Regions from separate parts of the Homo sapiens genome. Here region 1 is linked to region 2. The links are contacts of gene promoters, found by promoter capture Hi-C in blood cells and fetal thymus (Javierre and others, 2016). All regions are on one chromosome and are shown on one strand. The core of a region is centred on a gene start or on the middle of the fragment in contact, and the rest is flanking DNA. Distances in the headings are between cores, read along the strand shown.

Evidence for each region. Contacts are between HindIII fragments. The CHiCAGO score rates a contact against its expected background, and 5 or more counts as called.
Region 1: a fragment that was not itself captured here is called in contact with the fragment with the promoter of ZNF827 in region 2 in 1 of 17 cell types (total CD8 T cells); the score reaches 5.5 in total CD8 T cells.

What each region holds. Positions count from the first base shown.
Region 1 is chr4:148,438,966-148,444,463 of GRCh38, reverse strand. NR3C2 (nuclear receptor subfamily 3 group C member 2) reads left to right here and starts at 2,050. Exons shown (of 9, transcript NM_000901.5): 1 at 2,050-2,304. RefSeq lists a silencer at 1,853-2,142. The HindIII fragment of the contact is 1,777 bases long and covers 1,084-2,860 here.
Region 2 is chr4:145,936,178-145,941,856 of GRCh38, reverse strand. It overlaps ZNF827 (zinc finger protein 827), which reads left to right and starts at 3,034. Exons shown (of 15, transcript NM_001306215.2): 1 at 3,034-3,492. The coding sequence starts at 3,450. RefSeq lists an enhancer at 3,658-3,717 and silencers at 4,092-4,161, 4,282-4,691, 4,792-5,371. The HindIII fragment of the contact is 1,765 bases long and covers 1,528-3,292 here.

The DNA.
Region 1 (5,498 bases), core at 723-3,222, 2.5 Mb before region 2:
GCGGCCCCGGGCAAGGCAGGTTGCGCGCCCAGGGCAGAGGGCGCGGGTTGGCGAGCGGAGGTGGGATGCGGGCAGGAGACGAGTTGCCCGCTGGCGGCCCTGGGGCAAGGGTGCTGGGTGGCGGGCGAGTGATCGCGGCGGCTGCCCCTGCACGGTTCTAACCTAGATTTTGCAAGAAGCTGAGATCCAGGGCAAGACCGGCCCTCCTCAAAGGAGATAAAAACTTAGTAAAAGAGACACGTCCATTCCTTTAATAATGAATAATTCGGCAACGCTTGCGGAGCCGCCGCCGCCTCGCGTGCCCAGGCTCTAGGTCCGGGACTCCCCTTGCTCCCGCCCGCCGCCCGCGCTCTGCCGACGTGAGATCGATGCCCAGTTCGCTGGGCCGGGAGAGTGCGCGTGACGGTGGGCCCCGCGGGAAAGTTGGGACGCTCGGCGGGGACTCCTGGCTGCGGGGACGCCGGGGGCAGCTCCAAGCTGGGGACCGAGGGGCATTAGAGTCTGGGGTCAGGACCAGCTCGCGGCGCTGCCGCTGTCGCCCCTATCTCCAGGGAGTTCCTGACTGGAGCGGCTGAGAGTTCAAGTCTCAGCCCTGGGTTAGGGGTCCGGAATCCCGGAGCTTAACTAACTGTTAAGGAGAGGAGGGGCCTTTGGGCACAGGGTGTCCCCCGGTCCCCCGCCTCGGGCTTTGGCGGGCGCGAAGCGAGGGTGAGGCGGGAGGCCGCACAGCTGCCGCCGCCGGGCTGCGGGTCGCCGAGGGCCGGGGGACCAGATTTAGGTGTATACGTCACTGATGCTGACTCCGGGCCAGCGGGGAGCCTAAAACGGGGCCTTACATGAGAAGCCTAAAAGTCCTTAGAAATCAAAGTTAGGAACCCCATCCTTTTGCTTAGTAACTGCAGCATTTGGGTGGGCGGGAGGAGAATCGAGGAGGGGGCGGTTGGAGGGAAACCGAAATTTCTTCATGCAGACAACCGATCCTTAGAAAACAGTTTGGTTCCTTCCCCCCTCCTGTCTGTTTCTCCCACTTATGTGACCCACCCCCTCCACCCATTATAACGTGAATATCCTCGATGGTAAGCTTGCTTTCAAATTGAACTAGTGGAAAAATCCAATACTAAAGTAGTAAGTACAGTGACAAAATTATAAGGAAGTAGAGGAGCAGCTCTTGACCCTGCCACTTCTTTCATTTATCTTTCTCTCTCTCTCTTTTTTTTTTTTTTTTTTTTTTTTTTTTTTTTGGTGTTAGGGGTCTAAGGGATGGGAGGAAAGCTGTGTTTAAAGGGTTTTTCCAGCACGGTTAAAACAACTAAATTCAAATCGAGTGAACGTGATCGTCTTGCTCGCTGGCAGCGAAGGCTGCTGCTGCTCTGCTGAGAGGTAACTCTGGAGACAGTGGAAAGGGGCTGGGAGAGGAACCTCGAGGGTCGGGTGAAGCCCACCCAGAGTCCTCCCCGCGCGCGGACGCTGTTGGGCGGCGCCAGGGTCTGGGCTGCAGCTCACCTGGAGCTGCAGGTGGAGAGCGTGAGGGGACGACACTTTGCTCGCGGAAAAACCGACTTCTTCCGCGTCAGCACACTTTTCACATCTCTCCAGATATCCTGGGGTCGGTCAGAAGGAGAGCAGGGTGGACGTAAGCAAGTTTGGGGCGGCCGAGCGATGGGGGTGGGGGCAGCGTGCGGAGGCCGCCTGATGTAGCCACCGCCCGGCACCCCAAGCTCCCGCCGCGGCTGCGGCTTTAAGGAAGCTGCCGAGTCCAGGCTGTGTCGCAGCAACTTTGTATCAGTCATGTCGCCCGCCTGGTGACTGACAGCCTGGATTGTCCAATAAGAAGCCCGCCTGACCCGTGCGGCGTGGAGCCTTGCTTCTCTTCGGGCCAATAGGAAGGGTTCAGGGGGGCGGGATAGCAACCTGAACTTTATCTGGACATGTGACCCGCTTTTAAAAGGGCCAGCCCTCCAGCTGGCCCACTCCCCCTCCGGGCTTTCGCCCGCCCTCTCTCCCTCCCTTTTTTGCCCGCCCTGGCCCTGCCCCTGCCCCTGCCCCCTCCTCTCAGCCCCTCCGCGCCCGGGGTGTCATTGGGCCCGGGAGACGGGAGCCAACTTCAGGCTGCTCAGAGGAAGCCCGTGCAGTCAGTCACCTGGGTGCAAGAGCGTTGCTGCCTCGGGCTCTCCCGCTGCAGGGAGAGCGGCACTCGCTGGCCTGGATGTGGTTGGATTTAGGGGGGCTCCGCAGCAGGGGTTTCGTGGCGGTGGCAAGCGCTGCAACAGGTAGACGGCGAGAGACGGACCCCGGCCGAGGCAGGTGTGTAGGGGCGCGCGGCGGGGCACCGCTTGCCGTGCTCGGCGTGCGGCCGCGGCGCGGGAGCGTGCACTTTGCAGGGAGAAGTGGCTGCGTAATCCGGAGGCACAGTCAGTATGGTGCTGTGTGCTTGTTGTTTTGTTTTGGTTTTCCACTTTTCTCCCCCTTTGGCCGCCAGAGGACTATTTTGGGAAAGTTTGGCCACTTTGGATAAATGCCCTCTAACTAGCAGCTTTTAACTGCCTTTGGCAGTGGGAGGTCTACCACCCTTCCCTTTACCCAAAGATGAATTTCGGATCATTTTCCCTGTACAATTTTTAAAGGACGTTTGAATAATATTTCTTTCCTTTATCAATTGCGGACGCTCCCAAATCTCAGCCGGAGGTGTAGCGCATAAGGGCAGTTGAAGGAGATATAGATCCTAATAGATCCTGTATAAAAGGGGCTCTGGAAATTCGTGCATTTCCCGTTCGCTAGCATTCGCGAAACTCTTGAGACAGGCTACGCTTCCTATGGCATCAGTTGGAATTTTAAGGGCAAGGGAGAAGGGGACGAAGCTTCTTTTGGTGGCATCCTTACTCTGCTACTGAATTTTAGGTGCGTGGCTTTGCCTACTCAATTTAAAAAGACCAGGTTTAAATAATAATGGTTTATGGCACCATCAGTTTTAATTATTTATTATGACATAGGAGTTAGGAAAACTTTTGATAGCAGACGAGCTTTTGAAACCGCCGAATTTTAAAGGCACCAAATTGCTTCCTAACATTTTGTATTGCCATTTCTCTAGGTGCTGTTATTGATGATATTTACATAGTAATGATAACAGCATTCTCCATCTGTGAAGTCCTGCTGTGAAGTTTAAATTTTATGTTTGACATCGTGGCAGCTATCATGGAAAAGCTTGAGAGGAGAAGTTTTAAAAAATAATTTAAAGTGGAGCTTTTTCCTTTAAGGGAGGCATAGTTTTGTTTGGCGATTTTTGGAAAGATCAGGTGGCTCGGTAAATTAGGTGAGTGAATAGAAATCAGGTGTGCTCAGTTCTAACTGGTTCTCCCGCTCTCTCAGGTGACCTTGGGCAGATTTCTATCATTTACCTCATCTATAAAAGAGAGGAACATAATAGTTATGTAGTGGGGAATGACAAAAAATAGTTACATATAGTGAACTTTTACAACTATGCAGTCTATAGATGATTGTGAGATTCTTAAGCTTTAGTCTTTAAAGTGCCATCTTATAGTCAAATAAATATAAAAAAGATGCCTTTTCTATCATTTCCATCATGATGAGATTGGGTTTTGGGGGTTACTAAAAGTGAAAGTGTTTCCAGATAAAATACAAATTCGCAAGGATCTTTGTTAATATTCCCGAAAAAAGTACTTCTTTATGGAAAAGGGCAATTTAACACAGACTGTAAAACGTAAAACTTTAAGGTTTTCCTTTGTGAAAACAGCATTTCTTTTGTGTTTGAGAGCATATGTATGGCTTAAAGTAGCACCTCCACCAGTGCTTTTCCTTTAGTGAATTTTTTTTTGTGTTTTGGGGCGAGGCCCATTTGCATGAAAATTAAAAGTTCATAATGTTTTTTGCATTTGTCCTAAGAGAATCTTTGGTATGGTTTCCATTGTGAGGCAGGCAAGCCTGATTTTTGTTAGTTAGATTTGTATACCTCTATCTGCTTCATTTTATACTTTAGTAACATAAACTTTTTCTTTATCCTCTAGATATTAAGTTCTATGAGGATCATATTCATCGACTAGTATTTTCAGTATTCACTAGTTAGTACAGGTTGACTGAAATTCTGCTCAAGCCATGGTCATTGTGCCAGTTGCAAAAAGATAACCTCTGCTTCCTGGATGACATAGTAAATAAATTCCTAACTGGACCCATTTGTTTACAGAAAAGACTAATTAAAATACTAGGGAGACTCAAAATATTTCAATAATGCTATTTGAAAAATATCTGATCTTAAAAAAATGTTTGTGTAGAAGCCGTGCAGATGCTAGATGTCTTGTATTCTTTTGTGTTTGACTATTGCCAATCTGTATTGTTTCCTTTGTTGAGAGGTGCATTAGGTTGGTAGATGAGAATACCTTAAACAAAGTAATTTAGATTTCAGCAAAGCCTTTTGCAAATTCCTTAATGAGACTCCTGTCAATAATGTGGTGAAACACAGCCTATTTTATGTTATTAAGGGAGTTCAAGGTTAGCCAAACAGGACTTGGAAAGTTGTGATCAGCTGTATGATGTTAGCTGGTAAGGTGCTACCTTGTCCAGGGCTTTAAGACTGTCTTTGGTACCCATCATCTCCAGTATAGATTCTCTTCAGGTCTTCCGTAGCCTCACAAATGTGGGATATGGTTCTTGCTTTAGGGCAGAGTGCCGAAAAGTGCAGAATCTTAGTAGATGTTCTTTGAGAAAAAGGTGGAGTGGTCAAATTATTTGAGGAATGCTGGATTAAAAAGTAAACAGAATCTCCCAGAGGTTTTGATATGCAAATTTATATAGGGAAATTTCAAAAAAGCCAAGAGTGGACCGCCCTTCCCAAAAGACAATTTGGAGAATGGGTTTTGGAGAGGGGTCTGGGTGGGGGTCCCCTTCAGACACGGGACAGAGAGCCCTCTTGACTATGACCAGGAAGAGAATGAGGCTATGTGAGTGACGCAGAGTGTGCCAGTGAAGGCCTTCAGGTAAAGCTGTTGAGACAAGAGTAACTTCCAGGCATCTGGTTAGATGGTGGTGCAGTTTGCCAAGAGAGCGAATGTGAATTTGGGGGTGTGTGGGGGGAGAGATGTGCAGAAAGTGTTCAGTTTTGAATACAAATAGACATATTTATTGTGTTGTTTAATGGATTTGGATCTGAACCATTTATACCTTAGCTATATAGTAATTTATCTTTAGTATGGGGAAGACAAAATATTCTTAGGTAGAAATAGAAGCAGCATATAATATTTACTGCTATTTTTCAATACATAGCTATGACTAAATGGTTTTTTAGTAAAGCATAAAAGGCCAGTCTTAGCTATTTGGATCCCAATTCACTGTTTTTTAGTTTAGTTTTCTATCAGCTTTTACTTGGCTTTCATCCACACCAAACATTTTGGCTGGAATTACTATTAATAGATAACTACCTCAACCTTTGTAATTTTATTTATTTTCTACTGTTTTGTGATTGATTTTTGATTAGGAATTCATAGGAT
Region 2 (5,679 bases), core at 1,785-4,284:
CTTGAATAGATTTCACTTCTGTGAGAGTGTTTATGAAACTTCTTCTTAGAGTGCACAGTTTTGAGAAAATCTATTTTAATTTCACATTTGAGAGGTAATGGAGATGGGGGTGGAGAGAGTACTATAATTATTAAGATAAAATATGCTTTTTAAAGCTTAGTCCATGGGTGGGGTGAATCAAATAGAATATTCCAATCTGATGAGTATGGCCAACAATAATCAAAGCTCATGGTTCATGGGTATATATATCCCAAAAGCATACATTTCCAAAATTATTTATGCATTTGATTTTGAAATCCATTATCGTAACCCCCAAGTATTTATTTTCCTAATGTTTTTGTTAGTCTGACATTAAAATTAGTTTGTGTTCCCTGAGCATACAGCGATTGAGGGTGAGATGCAAATGACCTTGAAGAGTGTTTTATAGCATAAAGGTACCAACCTGAGATTGAAACGGAAATTGTTCTGTCCTTATTTCCATTTTCTATTGTTGTGTACTATTTCAAATAATTTTTGGAAAGAGGTGGAGGTATGAATAAATTCAATTTAAAAATGCTTTTGGCTGTTGATAGAACACCTATATAATTAAAAGTTGACAGCATTTTCCTGCATGCCTTTAAAAGGTCGCAGGAAATGTACTCTGCTTTGAGGAAAGGCCTAAAGTGTGTTTTCAATTATAGCAAACTAAACATTAGGAAGAGTCCTAGCAATTCAGAAAAGGTAGTGGTGTGTCTATGCAGAGTCATAATCCTGAACACCCTAGCCAAAGGTTCTGAGAGAGCAGTGGTGAAGTGTGGTGACCATTTTGTTCAGCTGTAAAGATTCTACACACTCAGAGCATTGGTCTACTTGGAAAGGATGGGCTCTAATTTATCATTAATATATTAATTTCAAGTCCAATGTCACCGACAATAGTCAAAATTATGGCAAATTGAATTTGACCTGAGTGGAAAGATAGTTATATTTCAAATTATAATGCAGGGCAACCTAACTACCAGTTTTTTAAAACCAACATTTGAGGAAGAACTGGTTTAAGGATGATGCTCCTTTTTTTTTTTTTTTTTTTTTTTTGAGATGGAGTCTCGCTCTGTCGCCAGGCTGGAGTGCAGTGGCCCGATCTCGGCTCACTGCAACCTCCGCCTCCCAGGTTCAAGCGATTCTCCTGCCTCAGTCTCCCAAGTAGCTGGGACTACAGGAGTGTGCCACTACATCCAGCTAATTTTTGTATTTTTAGTAGAGACGGGATTTCACCATGTTGGCCAGGATGGTCTCGATCTCTTGACCTCGTGATCTGCCCACTTCCGCCTCCCAAAGTGCTGGGATTACAGGGTGCTCCATTTTAAACTTGACTGCTCTCTGTTTTGGTTTTAGATTGAATTCATGCAGGTGTTTCAAACCTCGCTTTCAATAGCATTACTTGTTACTGGGAAGCTAGATCTTTTGGGGGGAGTTGGCAGGGAGGGGTTGAACGTGAGATTTCTCTATCAGTGAAAGACATCTTTTGGGAGATACAGCACTCTTTAAGCTTCACTTATAAAAGTGTGCAATATAAAGCCTTATTATTATTTTTAATAAGGCAAGTCAGAATTTAACCCCCATGGCTCTCTTTAACACCACTGAAGTTGTAAGAATTAACTCAACCTCAAAGAGGCATGAGTTATCCATGTAGGCTTATAGAGTGTCATTTTAATGTTCTATGTCTTTACTGTGCCTCCACTTTCTTTGATGAAAAGGTCTATTTAAAAATTGGTAGGAAAATATTTAACATAATAAGATGATGAGTCAGAGTTTTAAAAAAGCTAAAAAGGGAAGATGTAGTTAAATAATGCACCTTTTTATTTTCTAGCTACATGACTCATGACATATAATGTATTCTGCTAAGTTCAAAGTTTCCTCTTACAAAGAGAGTTTTATGAAACAACTCTTCTTCAGACCATTTTTATTTCAATTATAGTAGCAGGTTTTGGAGTTTAAATCATTAACAACCTCTGAGTGAACTTTTATCCAAATGACTGCAAGTCACAAAGAGAACAGTCCTCTTTCACCAAGTACCTTTTGTGCTCTAGTGAGACCCGTCCTTTTCTATTTTTCTCCTTTATGTCTCTCTTTGAAGAAAGATGTGTGATTTGTAAGGTAATGAAAGTATGTATCAGTTAATGAAAACTGCTATATTGGGCTCATAATGCACACTGGAATTGCTTCAGGGTAAACTTCATATACCTGCAGTATATAGCAGGGGAAAAAGTGAATTTCCGAAGTAAAGATTGCTGTGTGCACTCTAGGAGTATCACGTAGCAGTTAAAGCAACCATCAGGGGTGACCTAATCTTATTTTCCTCTCTTTGTCAAGTAGCTGTAATGTTCATTTAGGAGCATTTTTCAGTTTTAACTCCAGTGGACACTCCAAAACTGGGCACTTATTCTGTCAACTGTCAACCAAGTTATTGATTTCACCATATGTTGTCTTCATTTTTTTTAAATTAGTTTTTTTGGAATGTTTTTGAAGAGTGTGTGGGAGACGATAACCTCCAGATTTAAGGTGATGGGGTAGGGACAAAAGCCTGCAGAATTTCATACAGAACAAAATGTAGCTTAATAAACAAAAGAAAGTGAAGAGAGAAATTTATTTCCTTTTTAAAAGTCAGTAAAATAATGAACTAATCGTTGTTTAAAGAGTGAGAAAAACTTTTTCCCCCTAGATTTGGTGACTAGCGGGATAAATTTGAAGAACTCCATCCCACCCCCGCACGCGCGCCCCCCATTCTTTCCAGACAGAGCGGTTGTAAATCCGAGGCTGAGTCCGCCCTGGGAGCCTTGGGGCACTTTCCTCTTTGCTCTGTGTGTGTGTGTGCGTGCGTGTGTGTGTGTGTAGCTCTCGCTCTTTCCCTCAGTCTGTGCCTCTTGTGTGTGTGTGTGTGTGACAGAGAGAGAGCGAGAGAGAGAGCGCGAGAGGAGAGAGAGCGAGAAAGAGAGAGAGAGAGAGCAAGAGAGCGAGCTGTGAGCTGTGCTGCCGCCGCCGCTGCCCTTTGATCCCGACATTAGTGTTAGGGGCTCGGAGACACAGAGCGCGGCCATAGACACCGCCGCACCGGCACTCATTTATTTATACCTCCCATCACACACGCGAGCATAGGACACACACACACTCACACCTATTAGATCCGTTTCCATTGAAGAATATTACGCTCGGGGACAAGCCAGGTGCACGACCAAAAATTTAAAAAAAAAAAAAAAAGGAAAAAAGAAAGGAAAGAAAAGAAGAAAACCCCTCTTCTGGCTCCAGGAAACAAGCTTCAACCCATTGCACACACCGGAGAAGGGGTTTCCCCCTGCCCGCCCGCCCGCCCCCCAACTACCTCCCCGCTCCTGCCAGTGTCTGCCTCTCTGCCCCCACGGGGGTTTATTTGATCTCACATTAACCAAGGAGGAGAATGTGAGAAAAGGGGGAAAATGCCCAGGAGGAAGCAGGAGCAGCCCAAGCGCCTTCCCTCACGTAAGTCATCCCTTCTCCACCTCCTCTCGTGCCATTTTCTCGCCCTCCCTCTCCTCTTTCCCCTCCGCAGCCTCCTCCGTTGTTTTCTGCATTAGTTTAGGGTTACAGAGGTGAAACTGACAAAGACACAGCCCGGGTTACTCCTCGTTTAGGTCTATGCTGAGGCAGCCATGTTGGTGATGATCAGCCCCGTGCCCTTTCTATTCTCTCTCTCTTTTTCTTTCTTTCTCTCACCCCCCCCCTTTTTTTCCTTGAGATCGGGCTTTTTTTTCCCTTTCCCTCCCCTTCCCCCTCCTCACTCTGGGTTGCTGGGGGGAGGGGGCAAGAGAAGGGAGGAGGGGAGTAGTGTGGATGCCGGGGGTTTTATCGGGGGTTTGGTGGGGGGAGGTGGGAGAGGTTGGAATCTTAAAAAAAAAAAAATTCCTTGTGGATTCCGGCGCCTGAGGGTGCGGGGGTCGGGGCGCGCGGAGGGCTGGGGGCCGTGACATGGCGTTTGGGGGTGTCGGGGAGAGGGCGCGCAGCAGCCGCCGGGTACAGGATCCAGGGAGAGGTCCGTCCCTGGCTAAAGGTTGCGCCGGGGTTGGTCGGCCCCCGAGCCGCCGGCGGCAGCGGCGGCGGCGGCTGGAGCAGGAGGAGGCGGAGGTGGAGGAGGCGGCGGCGGAGGAGGGGAGTCGGGGGCGGGCGAGGCGGGAGCGGCTGGGGAGGGTGTAGGGGCACCGCACACAAACACACGGGTACACACGCGCCGCCGGGCGGCTGCTCCCGCGGCGCCGAGGCGAGGGGGCGCGCCGGGGCGCGGGGCGGCCGGGCGGGGGGCGAGGCCGGGCAGCGGCGGGCGGATGTGGGGTGCGGGAGCTGCGCCGAGGCGAAGGCAGGAGGCAGGGCGGCTCGCGGCGCGCGAGGTCCCTGCAGAGCGGAGGAGAGGGAGGAGCAGGGCTCCTGGCCGCAATAAAATGCGGGGTCAGTCGGAGCAGACGGAGCCGGGCGAGACTCGGGCTCTCAGACCCCCTCCTTGGCGAGCCTGAGCAGAGTCCAGGACTAAAGTGCATCACAGCCCTCCCCGGCGGCAGCCACACACGCCAACTGGAGACACACACCCGCCGGCACGGCCCGGTCCCCTTCCCCTCCTCCACCCGCGCCCCCGGTCCCTCTCCGCCCTCCCTCCGGCTTTTCTTTGCGCGACTCTTAACTTTTCCCCCACTCCCTCTCCAGCTCCCCCCAACCCCCCAGTCTTTCTCCGCTTTGAGTGTTTCGAGATGCTGCTAAAGCTAAAAGTGAAGGAGAAAGAAGCAACTAAAAATATCCCCCGGGGCCGCCCGGCTCCTTGAATGCAGGGAAGAGGGGGCAGGGGAGAAGGCGTGGGGCGGGGTGACGGGGAGGAGGGGACGCGGGAGGCGCCGGAGGGAGGGGTCGGGGGAGACGGAGGGTCAATTTCTCTTCTCTCCCCCCACACTACTCCCCTCTCCCGGCGGTTTGGCGCTGCTCGGAGCCCGATCCTGCAAAACCCGGGCTGGGGGCGGGAGTGGAGCCGGAGCGCCCGCCCGCCCGGGTGTCAGGCCGACGTGGTCGGTCACCTGAAGTTCACGGAGGGTGGGGGAAGGGTTAAGGTTATGGTGTCTCGGGCTCGGGCTGTGTGTGAGCTTGTGCTTTTCCGCTGCAGACAGGCAGGGCGATCGATCTCCCCCTCGCGAAATAACCGCGGCGGTGCCTGCCCAGGGGACCGGGAGGGGGGCGCGGGCTGCTCGGGCCAGGCGCCCCCGCGCCTCCGTGTCACCCGGGCCGCAGCCGAAGTGGCGAGCAAGGGCACTTGCAAGCAGTCCGCTCCGCAAACATTCCTCTTTCTTTCCCCTTCCCGGTACGCAGGAGTCGACGCAAAGGGCTTGGGTTGTGCTTTTTTCCCCTTCCTTTAAAAAAAAAAAATGCCCCTGTGCAGTCCTTTCTTCGCCTGCCCGCTAGAGGTTCTGAGGATAATATCACATATGTAATATATATGCACATAAAATCACTCGCAGGCGGCTGCGTGTGTAGGGAAATTTTGTGCGAGGAAGGAGAAGGCGGTGGAGTCGGGGAGGGCGAGTTGGGAGGCTCCGCGCTGCGATTCACAGAAAACTCGCAGCAGTTGGTGGAAGAGTGTGCGTGCACATGGCCGGACTGCCCCGCTGCCGGGCTCTTGTCGGGGGCGTGTGG